Linked DNA regions of Homo sapiens: region 1 is linked to region 2. The links are contacts of gene promoters, found by promoter capture Hi-C in human tissues and cell types (Jung and others, 2019). All regions are on one chromosome and are shown on one strand. The core of a region is centred on a gene start or on the middle of the fragment in contact, and the rest is flanking DNA. Distances in the headings are between cores, read along the strand shown.

The links. Contacts are between HindIII fragments. The study calls those that stand out against the background at their distance.
Region 1: a fragment that was not itself captured here is called in contact with the fragment with the promoter of DDI2 in region 2 in 3 of the 25 tissues and cell types used here (aorta, psoas muscle and small bowel).

What each region holds. Positions count from the first base shown.
Region 1 is chr1:15,719,500-15,725,094 of GRCh38, forward strand. PLEKHM2 (pleckstrin homology and RUN domain containing M2) reads left to right here. Exons shown (of 20, transcript NM_015164.4): 6 at 235-421; 7 at 1,830-1,889. Among named protein-coding and RNA genes, the nearest start is that of SLC25A34, 14 kb to the right of the region's middle. RefSeq lists a silencer at 5,029-5,305. The HindIII fragment of the contact is 6,722 bases long and covers 1-5,595 here.
Region 2 is chr1:15,613,633-15,619,184 of GRCh38, forward strand. It overlaps DDI2 (DDI proteasomal shuttling factor 2), which reads left to right and starts at 3,826. Exons shown (of 10, transcript NM_032341.5): 1 at 3,826-4,176. The coding sequence starts at 4,039. It also overlaps the pseudogene CD24P1. RefSeq lists a silencer at 3,580-4,149. The HindIII fragment of the contact is 8,472 bases long and covers 503-5,552 here.

The sequences.
Region 1 (5,595 bases), core at 1,303-3,802, 100 kb after region 2:
AAGGGTGTAGCTGAGTTCTGACAGCTCTGTCTTCCATCAGCCTGAAGTCCACAGCTTTAAAAGCCAACACTATTCACATTGCTCTTCTTAGCAGCTTTTCTTTGAATTTACTACCTTAAGCCATTGATTTCCCAAAGAGGCACATCTGTGTCTCCCAGGCCTGGATCCTGCTGTCTGCAGAAGGCCGCTGCACGAGGCCTCCCACCAAACGGGCCTCCTCTACTCTCTCCTCAGGATGCCCCTTACCTAGACCTGGCCCCCTACATGCCCGACTACTACAAACCTCAGTACCTGCTGGACTTTGAAGACCGCCTTCCCAGCTCGGTCCACGGCTCAGACAGTCTGTCCCTCAACTCTTTCAACTCCGTCACCTCCACCAACCTGGAGTGGGATGACAGTGCGATTGCCCCATCTAGTGAGGGTGAGTGGCCCCAGGGCAGAAAAGCTAAGCCCCTGTTGTGAAACAGACTTGAACTGCTTAAGCCTGGCTGGGTGATGTCTTCCTTGGCTAGTTTTGGTCTGGTGGCTGAAATTTGCAATTAAACAGGGCTGGCCATTTCCCAGATCTTCATCTCCTCAGAGTCCCTGTGGTGGCTAAAAAGTGGATTCTGGGCACAAAAAGCTGAAATTATATATATATATATATATATAAAATATATATTTTTTAAGGTTAGACCCTTTTCCAGAAGGTTCTAGTCACATGCCTGTGGCAGTTTTCTAAGCAAGGAAGGTTTAGCAGTGGGACCTGGAAACCTTGTCGCAGGGTTGAGTGTTGCCTGTTCTGGGGAGCTTGTCTGACCCCACATTCTTTGCAGAAGGAGGTTAAGCAACCCCTAGAAGAAGAGAGAACCAGGCAGGTCTGAAGCGCAGGGAAACCTTGCCACTGTGTCCTGTGTGTCCGTCCGATTTCTCTGAGTTCCTTCTGCGCTCGCTGATGTGTTTGGGATGGTCGCACCCTTTGCATCAGGGACCGAGGAAGAAGCTGCAGGTCATTTTGTTGTCTTGACCCAATGATTTACTGGAACAGCCTGGTTTCTTTCAAACCTTAGGCCCTGGTGTTCATGGATAAAACTGGCCATTTTCCCCTCTTTATCTCCTGTAGGAGACCAGAGCCCTTCATTTACTTCACCCCACCACCTCACCTCCAGGGAAGGGGATCCCAGCCCCAATTTAGCCCTGGGGCACCCTAGAATTGCCTCAGCATTGAGACCTTGACCTTCCCCTTTCTTTATTTCTGCTGTACCACGGGTTATATGTCCCAGGAAGGGAGGTCCCTCTCAAACTTGCTGTTAGCAAGACCTGCATTGCTGACCGTGCAAGCTGAAGAAGGCGGCACAGTCTCCTTAGGTTGGGCCCATGGGCCACCTTAGAGGAGTTGGAGGGGTGGGCCTTGCCGGAAGAGCCAGGGCAAGGATGGATCCATGGATGGAGGTGTCCCCTCAGCAATTTGGAGATTGTGCAACTGCAGCTGCCAGGGCAGTGTCTCCTTGCCCTGCTAGGGTATGGAGGGAAGGCACGTAAGAGGTAGAAAACAAAGCTAGGCACAGGCAGCCAGGCTTCTCTCTGCCAGAACCAGCTTCTGGATGTGGAAAGGGGTCACCCTGACAGGTCTTTCCAGCTGGTTGGAGGCTCCTGGGCCAGCGCCTGAGCTGAGAGGCAGTCAGGGCCCTAGTAAGTTTCCCCAAGGTTGTTGGATACAATGTAGAAAGTTGAAGTTTTCCTCTCCTATTTTCTCCCCATGTCTCCCACCCCATTTCCCCTCCCCTCCCTCCAGTCATCCTTCCACTGCCTGTGTTTCTAATCTTCAGTTTTGTCCCTCGTTTTTGTAGATTATGATTTTGGAGATGTGTTTCCAGCAGTGCCGTCTGTACCCAGCACAGACTGGGAAGGTGGGCCAGAGTCCGCTGTTACCCTCTTTTCCTGTTTTGCAATGTTTCCATGCCAAGCTTGCTGCATGTATCAAATCAGCTCCTTATTATTTATAATAATATCCATAATCATAATAAAGCCAAGTTTGGTGTTCTAATAGATGGAATTCTGCAGTGGGAAAACTCAACCTCTAGCCATAGGCAAATCCCTTCTCCCAGTGCAGGGCTCCTGCCTTTGCTCAGTGGCCTTTCGGAGTCACTAAGTGGCTGCATTTCGGGGGATACAGGGTCACCCTTCCTGATTCCAGTGCCAGCTGATGCTCTCGGGGTGTGTAGGGCCTGACCCAGTGAACCAAGACTTGTTCTGGAAAACCATGCCTTTAAACATGCGGGTTGTAAGCTCCTGCGGGTCAGATGAGCATCGAAGAGAAAGAGCTTGATTCTTTCAGTCTGTTCCTAATGGCTTCCTCTTGGGTGTTTTGGAGTGGTTGAGGTCCAAGTCAGGAAACTGCCCAGGTACAGCTGAAACTTCCTACAGACAGAATCTCTTTGAAGCTTTAAAGCAGATTAAAAGGAAATCTGCCAGCCCTCCCACCCTGTCTGCTGGGCAGTAGCAGTGCCTGGGCATTTTTCTGCCTGAAATTCCACTTCATAAATTCACAAAGCTATTCCCAGGTTGCCACGATTACTCAAAGCAAAGGCTATGTTGCCAATAAGGTGAATGTTTCCCCCTTAAATCTGAGGCCATAGCAGATCCCTGTTATTTTACTTTATGTTATTTTATTTTACTTTTTGAGACGGAGTCTCGCTCTGTTGCTCAGGCTGGAGTGCAGTGGTGTGATCTTGGCTTACTGTAACCTCCACCTCCCGGGTTCAAGCAATTCTCCTGCCTCAGCCTCCCAAGTAGCTGGGATTACAGGTGTGTGCCACCACGCCCGGCTAATTTTTGTATTTTTAGTAGAGACAGGGTTTCACCATGTTGGCCAGGCTGGTCTCAAACTCCTGACCTCAGGTGATCCACCCCACCTCATCCTCTCAAAGTGTGGGATTACAGGCATGAACCACTGCACCTGGTCCAAATCCCTGTTATTAAAGAGCCTCCTACCCTCTGGGCCACTTCCAGCCTGGAACAGGGGAGGTGAGGGAACCTGGCCTCTGAACAGGGGAGGTGAGAACTGCCACACCCTGAGGATGAGGGGCACGTGGCTCTCCCCGCATTATTAGAGACGTGATTGCTGAGTAATGGGTGACAGGTGATCCGTTCCCAGATAATGTGAGTATGAAATACCTTAACTCTGTGAGAAATAAGATGTGGCATTGGGAAAAATAAACTATGACACTTGGCCAAGAGTAGCATTGAAGGGTCCCCTGTTTGAGTTAAATTAGCTTGGATTCCAGAATTCCATCATAACATCATGTACCCTCTTAGCCCCTCTTCTTGCAGCACACATGCTGGATATTGTTTTTTTTTCCCTCCGATTCTAACAACTAACCCCCCTCCTGACACGCCTGCTGCAGTCACTTGACAAGCAGGGCCTGACCTTCCTCTACAGCCTTTCAGAGCTCCCTGCGGCCTGAGAACTAACAGCCCAGTTGCACTGCTTGCCTCAGGGCAGGGTGAGATTTCTGGAGTTCCTGGAGCAGGATTCCTGAGCTCACTCTGGCAGCTCACCCGGGGAGGCTCTGTCTTCTCCTTGGACCTGGAGGAAGGCAGGACTTGGGGCAGCTCCAAACTCTGAGCCTGGGGTGGCCTTCCCCTGGTCTTTGGCTTATTTACAGAGCTGGTGGGCATGCGGGCCTTGACACCCACCACATCTCATGATCTGCCCACTCACCTCTCAGGGCTCCTCTTGGGTGCAACTGCGTGTGCTGAGGAGAATCACAGGAGCCGGAGCAAGAACACATGGGCTTGGCAGGAGCCTGCTTTGGGACCGAGAGACGCGGTTTTCTGTATCTTAGAACTTAGGCTCTGAGATCCCCGGAAATCTGGAAAAAGTCCCCGATGTTGCTGGTCTTTTCTGGCAGAGCTACTCATTGCCTTTAGCCTCCTCTTTTGTCCTTATATTAAAAGACAGCAGACTTAAAAAAAAAAAAAAAGGGCCAGGCTCACACCTGTAATCCCAGCACTTTGAGAGGCTGAGGCTGGAGGATCGCCTGAGCCCAGGAGTTTGAGACCAACCTGGGCAACACAGGGGGACCCCGTCTCTACTAAAAATATAAAAATTAGCCAGGCTTGGTGGTGCACGCCTATAGTCCCAGCTACTCTGTGGGCTGAGGCAGGGCAGGAGGATCACTTGAACCCAGGAGGTCGAGGCTACAGTGAGCTGTGATTGCGCCACTGCGCTCCAGTCCGAGCGACACAGCGAGACCCTGTCTCAAAAAAAAAAAAAAAAAAAAAAAAAGGACGGTGTGCTGCATCAGCAGACAGCTGCCCTGTGGCTTCCAAGGGCACTAAGTTGACAGCTGGTTGGGCCCCCAGTGGGGCTGTGGGGTGCATGTTTGCCTCTTTTCTTCCGGGCAGACAGCGGCCAGCAAGATGAGCATTGGCCGGCAAATAGAGCACGACCAGCCATGGCCCTTGCCATTGACCCTCACCCAGGCAGTTTCACCAGCTGGGCCTCAGCTCTCTGCTTGGGTGGCTCCCATCTGCCACTGGCCGTATGGGCTGTGTGCTTCACCTGCCCGTGCTCCCTCTCCTGCCCTGTTCCAGTAACCAGGGGCAGATGGCTGGGTGGGGCGGGATGTCCAAGCCAGCTCCCCTCTCGGGGGCCGTGTCAGGGTATGAGTCAGAAAGGACCAGTCAGTGAGCTGACACTTGAATGAAATGGAGTTCTCGGCCGGGCACGGTGGCTCACGCCTGTAATCCCAGCATTTTGGGAGGCCGAGGCGGGCAGATCACGAGGTCAGGAGATCGAGACCATCCTGGCCAACATGGTGAAACCCCAGCTCTACTAAAAATACAAAAATTAGCTGGGCATGGTGGCGCATGCCTGTAATCCTAGCTACTCGGGAGGCTAAGGCAGGAGAATCACTTGAACCCGGGAGTTGGAGGTTGTAGTGAGCCGGGCTCGCGCCACTGCGCTTCAGCCTGGCGACAGAGAGAGACTCCGTCTCAAAAAAAAAAAAAAAGAAAGAAATGGAGTTCTCAGCACCACCCTTGCAGGGGCACCTGGTCCTGCCCCCGAGGAGTGTGTAGGGTCAGGGGTGCTGGGGAGAAGCAGCCTGGGGGGCGGCCTCTCGGACCCCTGTCTTTGCCCCTTCGCACCTTGCTCTCATTGCCCTGCTCTGTCATCTTGTCTCTACTCTGTGCTCTGGGCATTTCCCTCTGCCCCATGGTTCCCACCCCTTGGGCTCCCATCCTGTCTCCTAGCCTCTGCCCCCACTCTGCACCCCTCACTTTCTCTGCTGTCTTCCTCCATTCTTCTCCCTTTGTGTTCCTTTTACCTCTGCAAGGGACCCTTCAGAGGACTTTGGGCACCTCTCAGCCCTACAAGTGGGGTATGGGGCTAACGGGGCTGCTGGGTACCCCTGTAGCGTCCTGGCAGGAAGGCTCTGAGGGTAACCTAAGAGGCGTGCAGCCTGGCTCCTCTCTAGGGCTCCCAGCCACCCATGGAGGCCTCGAAGTCACCATTCCTATGGGACTTAAGCCTGGAGCTTGAGCCTGGAGGCTGCTTCACCGCGGGGGCCCTTAACACAAACTCAGCCAAATTGTTGTGAGCTCCGGAGG
Region 2 (5,552 bases), core at 2,576-5,075:
TATTTATTATTATTTTTTTTTTATTACCCAAGTTTTGTCTCAGGATCTACTATTCTTATTTTCAAGGTAGTTTTAACTGTCCACATTTCTTAAGCCACATTCAAGAAATAATGTCTTCAATTTTGGATGTTGCCTCTCTTCATCTTGTACATGACATTTAAGCAGATTTAATATTGGCATCCATCATCTAGTCAAACCCTTCACGTGTTCTTCAAAGCAATTAAATTTGGGGTTCTCAACCTTTTCTTTCTTTCTTTCCTTTTTTTTTTTTTTTGAGATGGAGTCTCACTCTGTCGCCCAGGCTGGAGTGCAATGGCGCGATCTCGGCTCACTGCACCCTCTGCCTCCCATGTTCAAGCCATTCTCCTGCCTCAGCCTCCTGAGTAGCTGGGATTACAGGCACACACCACCACGTCTGGCTAATTTTTATATTTTTAGTAGAGACGGGGTTTCACCATGTTGGTCAGGCTGGTCTTGAACTCCTGACCTTGTGATCCACCTGCCACCTGCCTCGGCCTCCCAAAGTGCTGGGATTACAGATGTGAGCTACCGCGCCTGGCCTTTTTTTTTTTTTTTTTTTTTTTTGAGACAGAGTTTTGCTCTTGTTGCCCAGGCTGGAGTGCAATGGCGCAATCTCGGCTCACTGCAACCTCTGCCTCCCAGGTTCAACCAATTCTCCTGCCTCAGCCTCCCAAGTAGCTGGGATTACAGGCATCCACCACCATATCTGGGTAATTTTTCTGTACTTTTAGTAGAGACGGGGTTTCACCATGTTGGCCAGGCTGGTCTCAAACTCCTGACCTCAGGTGATCCACCTGCCTCGACCTCTCAATGTGTTGGGATTACAGGCATGAGCCACCACACCTGGCCAGGTTCTCAACCTTTTCTGTATCAGTAAAAGAAGGTGTGAAATTAATAGATTTGATGAAGACCCGCTTTTTTTCTTGCCACATTGGACTCCTAGATGCCATTTGGAATGGGTTTAGAAGACACGGAAGTATAGATGTTTCTTAACAGTAGAAATATAGAAGAGAAAGCAAGACCATGAGGAGACTGGCAGTTGACTGCAGGGCACAGCCAACTGCCTTGGTGGTGGCATTAGCTGGGTTTGGGGCAGACAAGGTACCCTGGGAGGAGTTACTTGAAAACGTTACAATAGTTTGATTTGAATAAATCTGCATAAGTAGGAGCAGTGCCAGAAGCAGCAGCCCCAGCCTGAGCCTGTCCACCATTGCTTTGTCCCCTCCATTGGTGTCTGGCATATATTGCTGGATGCTGGGTGAGAACTGCTGGCTCCAGGTGGACACAGGCGAGACCTAGCCTTAAAAATCACACAAAGTGGCTGGGTGCGATGGCTCACATCTGTAATCCCAGTACTTCGTGAGGCCAAGGTGGGAGGATCACTTGAGGCCAGGATTTGGAGATTAGCCTGGTCAACATAGCAAGGACTCATCCCTATTTTTTTTAACTAAAAATAATGTAAAATCATAATAAAAAGGAAATCAAGCCTGGGCAACATAGCAAGATCTCATCTCTACTAAAAAGAAATTAGCTGCGTGTGGTGGTGCACACCTGTAGTTCCAGCTGCTGGGGAGGTTGAGCTGGAGGGATCACTTGAGCCCTGGAGGTTGAGGCTGCAGTGAGCCATGATCGTGCCACTGCACTCCAGCCTGGGTGACAGAGCCAGACCCTGTCTTGATAAAAAAAAAAAAAAAAAAGGAAATCACATAATGTCACTTATGCCAGAGTTAGTCTGCCGAGCCATGATTCAAAGGGAGGGACATTCACCCCACTTCTTAATGGGAGGGTTATCCAATCATGTTGTAGGAAGAGCATAGACGATGGGAGGCACTGTCATGGTCATCTTTGGAGAACAAAATCTGCCAGACCTGGGAACCTGAGCACCACTAGACCAAATATAACAATTAATCAATGATTCAAGCCTCAACTGATTCCTTGATACCACCACTGGGCAATCCTAGAACATTTCTCAGCTAAACTTGCTTCAATTTGCAATGGTTATTTCAAACATTCACTGTAGAAGGCACTGTGTACATCTTTCCTAATACCCATTCCCAGCCCCCCTTTTCCCTATTTATGTCCTTTAGGCAAAGCTAAATACTTGCGTTCCTAGCCTCTCTTGCATCTATGTGACACAATTCTGTCCAGTGAGATGTAAGCAAAAATGTGCACAGGGACTTCTGGGCAAGCTTTTTCCTTGAATAGGAAAATGATGCGTGCAGTGGAGGCAGCCAGCCATATATTGCAACCCTCAGGAAAAGGTCAAGACAATTACAAAAGTATTGGCCCTGATTTCAGTGAGCCACTCAACCAGTGCTGTTGCTACCTCCAGGCCTTCTCTCCTGTGAGAAAACAAACCCTTGTTTGTTTAAGCCACTGATAGTCAAGCTTTCTGTTGCTCCTAGGGGATATAAGCATTCTCACTCCCCTGTGCCTCTACTTTCTCTTTTTTTTTTTTTTTTTTGAGACAGAGTCTCGCTCTGTCTCCCAGGCTAGAGTGCAGTGACCTGATCTCGGCTCACTACAACCTCCGCCTCCCGCGTTCAAGTGACCCTCCTGCCTCAGCCTCCCGAGTAGCTGGGACTATAGGTGTCCGCCACCATGCCCGGCTAATTTTTGTATTTTTAGTAGAGACGGGGTTTCACCATATTGGCCAAGCTGGTCTCGAACTCCTGACCTTGTGATCCGCCCGCCTTGGCCTCCCAAAGTGCTGGGATTACAGGCGTGAGCCACCGCGCCCAGCTCCTCTAATTTCTCTTTGTAAAAGCCTTCAGCTGCTAATTCTCCCTTTCCTGCCACCAACAGCCTACTTACTACCTACTTACCTGCACCCACAGCCATCTTATTTGCTCCTTCTCTCCTGTTAAAATGGAAAAGGGCTCCCTACCATGGAGGGGGAGTGGGAGTAAATGGAAAGATGCTAATCTGGCATCCATTACAAGTTCATCTTTCAGTTTTGGTTTTCTTACTCATCCGCACCTTAGTTCTGGGCCTCTACCACTCATCAGCTGTGTGCCTTAAAAACAGGCCATTAAAGTAGCAAATATTTATTGAGTAGATTCTAAGCTGTGCCCAAAAAGGCACTGCGCTAGGTGGTAGGAGTTGCTAGGGCTAGGAAACAGACACAGTCCAAGTAGAGAGAAAATTATTTACAAGACAGGGGAATGGAGCCTTGGAGGAACTGACCTATGTGGCTGGGAGGGCAGAGAATGTGGGAAGAGCTCGGAAGAAGGGGCTGGGGAGGTAGGCGTGGGCCACAGCCAACTGGCTTCTGTAGACTAGGGAGGGTAATGATTTTGGTTTCAATCCTAAATCACTAAGACAGGAAGTGAATTACTCTGTCGGAGCCTCAATTTCTACCTCGAAAAATATGTTTTATTACTAACTCCTGTACTAGATTGAGAGTTACGGAGAAGGATTTATCCTTTTATTCATTTCTGCATCGCCAGCGCCCGACACATGGTAGGCGCTTAATCAATGCCTGTTCGGTGAATAAATAAGACCGGGGACTCCTCCACAGACTTCTGTCATTAAGTCAACCAGTCAGCAGAGATTTCCTTCTCCGCGTTCCTTTCCTTCCCTCCCCTTTTCTTGCCCTTCCTCCCTCTCCTCTTCCACGCCCCCTTCCCACTCCTCCCCCTCCTATCCTCTCCTGGCTTCCTCCTCCTCTTCCCGGCCCCGCCCCCCGCTGCGTTGCGAAGGCGGGGAAGGCGAGGCGGGCTTTACGGCAGCCGCGTTGCGGCGGGGCGGGGCGCCGGGCGGCCGGCGCGCTTGGCGGCAGCCGTGGGAGGCAGGCCGGCAGGCAGACGGACTCGCAGGCGTGTGGCGGCGGCCGTGCTTGCTAGTGAGGGCGGGAGGGAGTGACTCACTGAGCGTGTGTGAGGGAGGGAGCGAGCGAGCGAACGAGCAGCCGGCGCCGTCCTCCCGCAGCACCAGCCAGGCCACGCCGCCGCCTCTTCCCCTGCGCCCCGCGCCCAGGCCGGGCCGAGCCGAGCCGAGCCGGGTCGGGCCCGGGCCATGCTGCTCACCGTGTACTGTGTGCGGAGGGACCTCTCCGAGGTGACCTTTTCCCTCCAGGTCGACGCCGACTTCGAGCTGCACAACTTCCGCGCGCTGTGCGAGCTCGAGTCTGGCATCCCCGCAGCCGAGAGCCAGGTACGCCGGGCAGCGAGCCGGGCCTGCCCCGGAGCTAAGCCCTCCCCGCCTCGGGGCCTCACTCCCTCCCTTTGCTACTGGTGAAGAATTGGGGGCTGGGGGGAGCAAGGATAGCCATTCTCAGGTCACCCCCGCATCCGGAAAGGAGCTGGGGAGCTGGCATCAGTAGCTGCCCTCACACACTCCGAGCATGGGGTGGGGTACGAGGAGAGGGAGCGGAGAACCTGACCGCAGACGCACCCACTGCAGCGTGAGGGGCGCGTGGACTGTTGAGCAGCGCTAACCCTCCCCACCTTTGGCTCTTTGGCCCTTCCCTGTTTCTAATCCCGAGTGTAGGATATCGTTGTGGACCTCAGAAGCAGCCCTGGGTTTGCTAGGATTCATACATCCTGCAAACCAGAAATACCAGTTTGGATCACTGTGGTAGATAGATGTTCCTCTGCTTTTTTTTTTTTTTTTTTCTGGAGAGGGTTTCTGCTTAAATATACGCAGTTTACCTTTAAATGCACAGATTTGCACTTCCGGTGAAAGAAAAAGTTTAAGACTTGCACTACCTCATTTTGGGGTCTTTGGAAATGCTCTTTACCCACCACATGCGTTTCTGGTTAAATTCTTTTGAAAAACAGTACCTATTGGTTCAACTCAAGCTGTTTGTTTGTTTCGGTTCTACCCTGGTAGTAAGCCAGAAGGCCCTTTTTCTTTCAGGTCACAGTTCAGAGTTTGGGTCAGTTCAAAGCTCAATGCTTTAAAAGGATATTTGCTTGGAAACGGCCTAGTATCAGTGCTGTTTGGTGGTTTCATTTCCCTACTCAGCTTGCTGGAAAGAAGTTCAGCCTCTCATATTTTAACTAAGCAAAGTAATTCTCAAAATGCTTTGGGGCTGCCCCTAGTCTTTATCAAACAGAATCGGTGACACTAACGCTGTAAACTTTACACTAAAACACTTAGATCATGACTTAATAAATTTAGCCTGGAGGAAATAGTCTAAACATTAAGAAAATTATAGAGGTCTCCCAAGTCTCCATCAAGTAAATCTTGATTTTCTACTGCAGTTATGAAATAGTTTACAAAACGATTGCCCAACTGCAGCTTGTTCTGCTGTCTTATGGTAAACACGTGTCAATACTTTGTTCAGAAGTATGATTCCTTTACACAATGTGAACTTTAGAACCTTGGCATAAAGCTGTTCAGAAAGAATTTAAAAAGTTAATCCACAAAAGCTCAGGAACCAGTTCTGTCAGTGAATGCCTCATGTGGAGAACTAGGAAAGGACTGTTTAAATAGAGAAAATAAACTCTTCAATTTTTTTTCTTTTTTTGTTTTTGTTTTTGAGACGGAGTCTTGCTCTGTCGCCCATGCTGGAGTGCAGTGGTGCG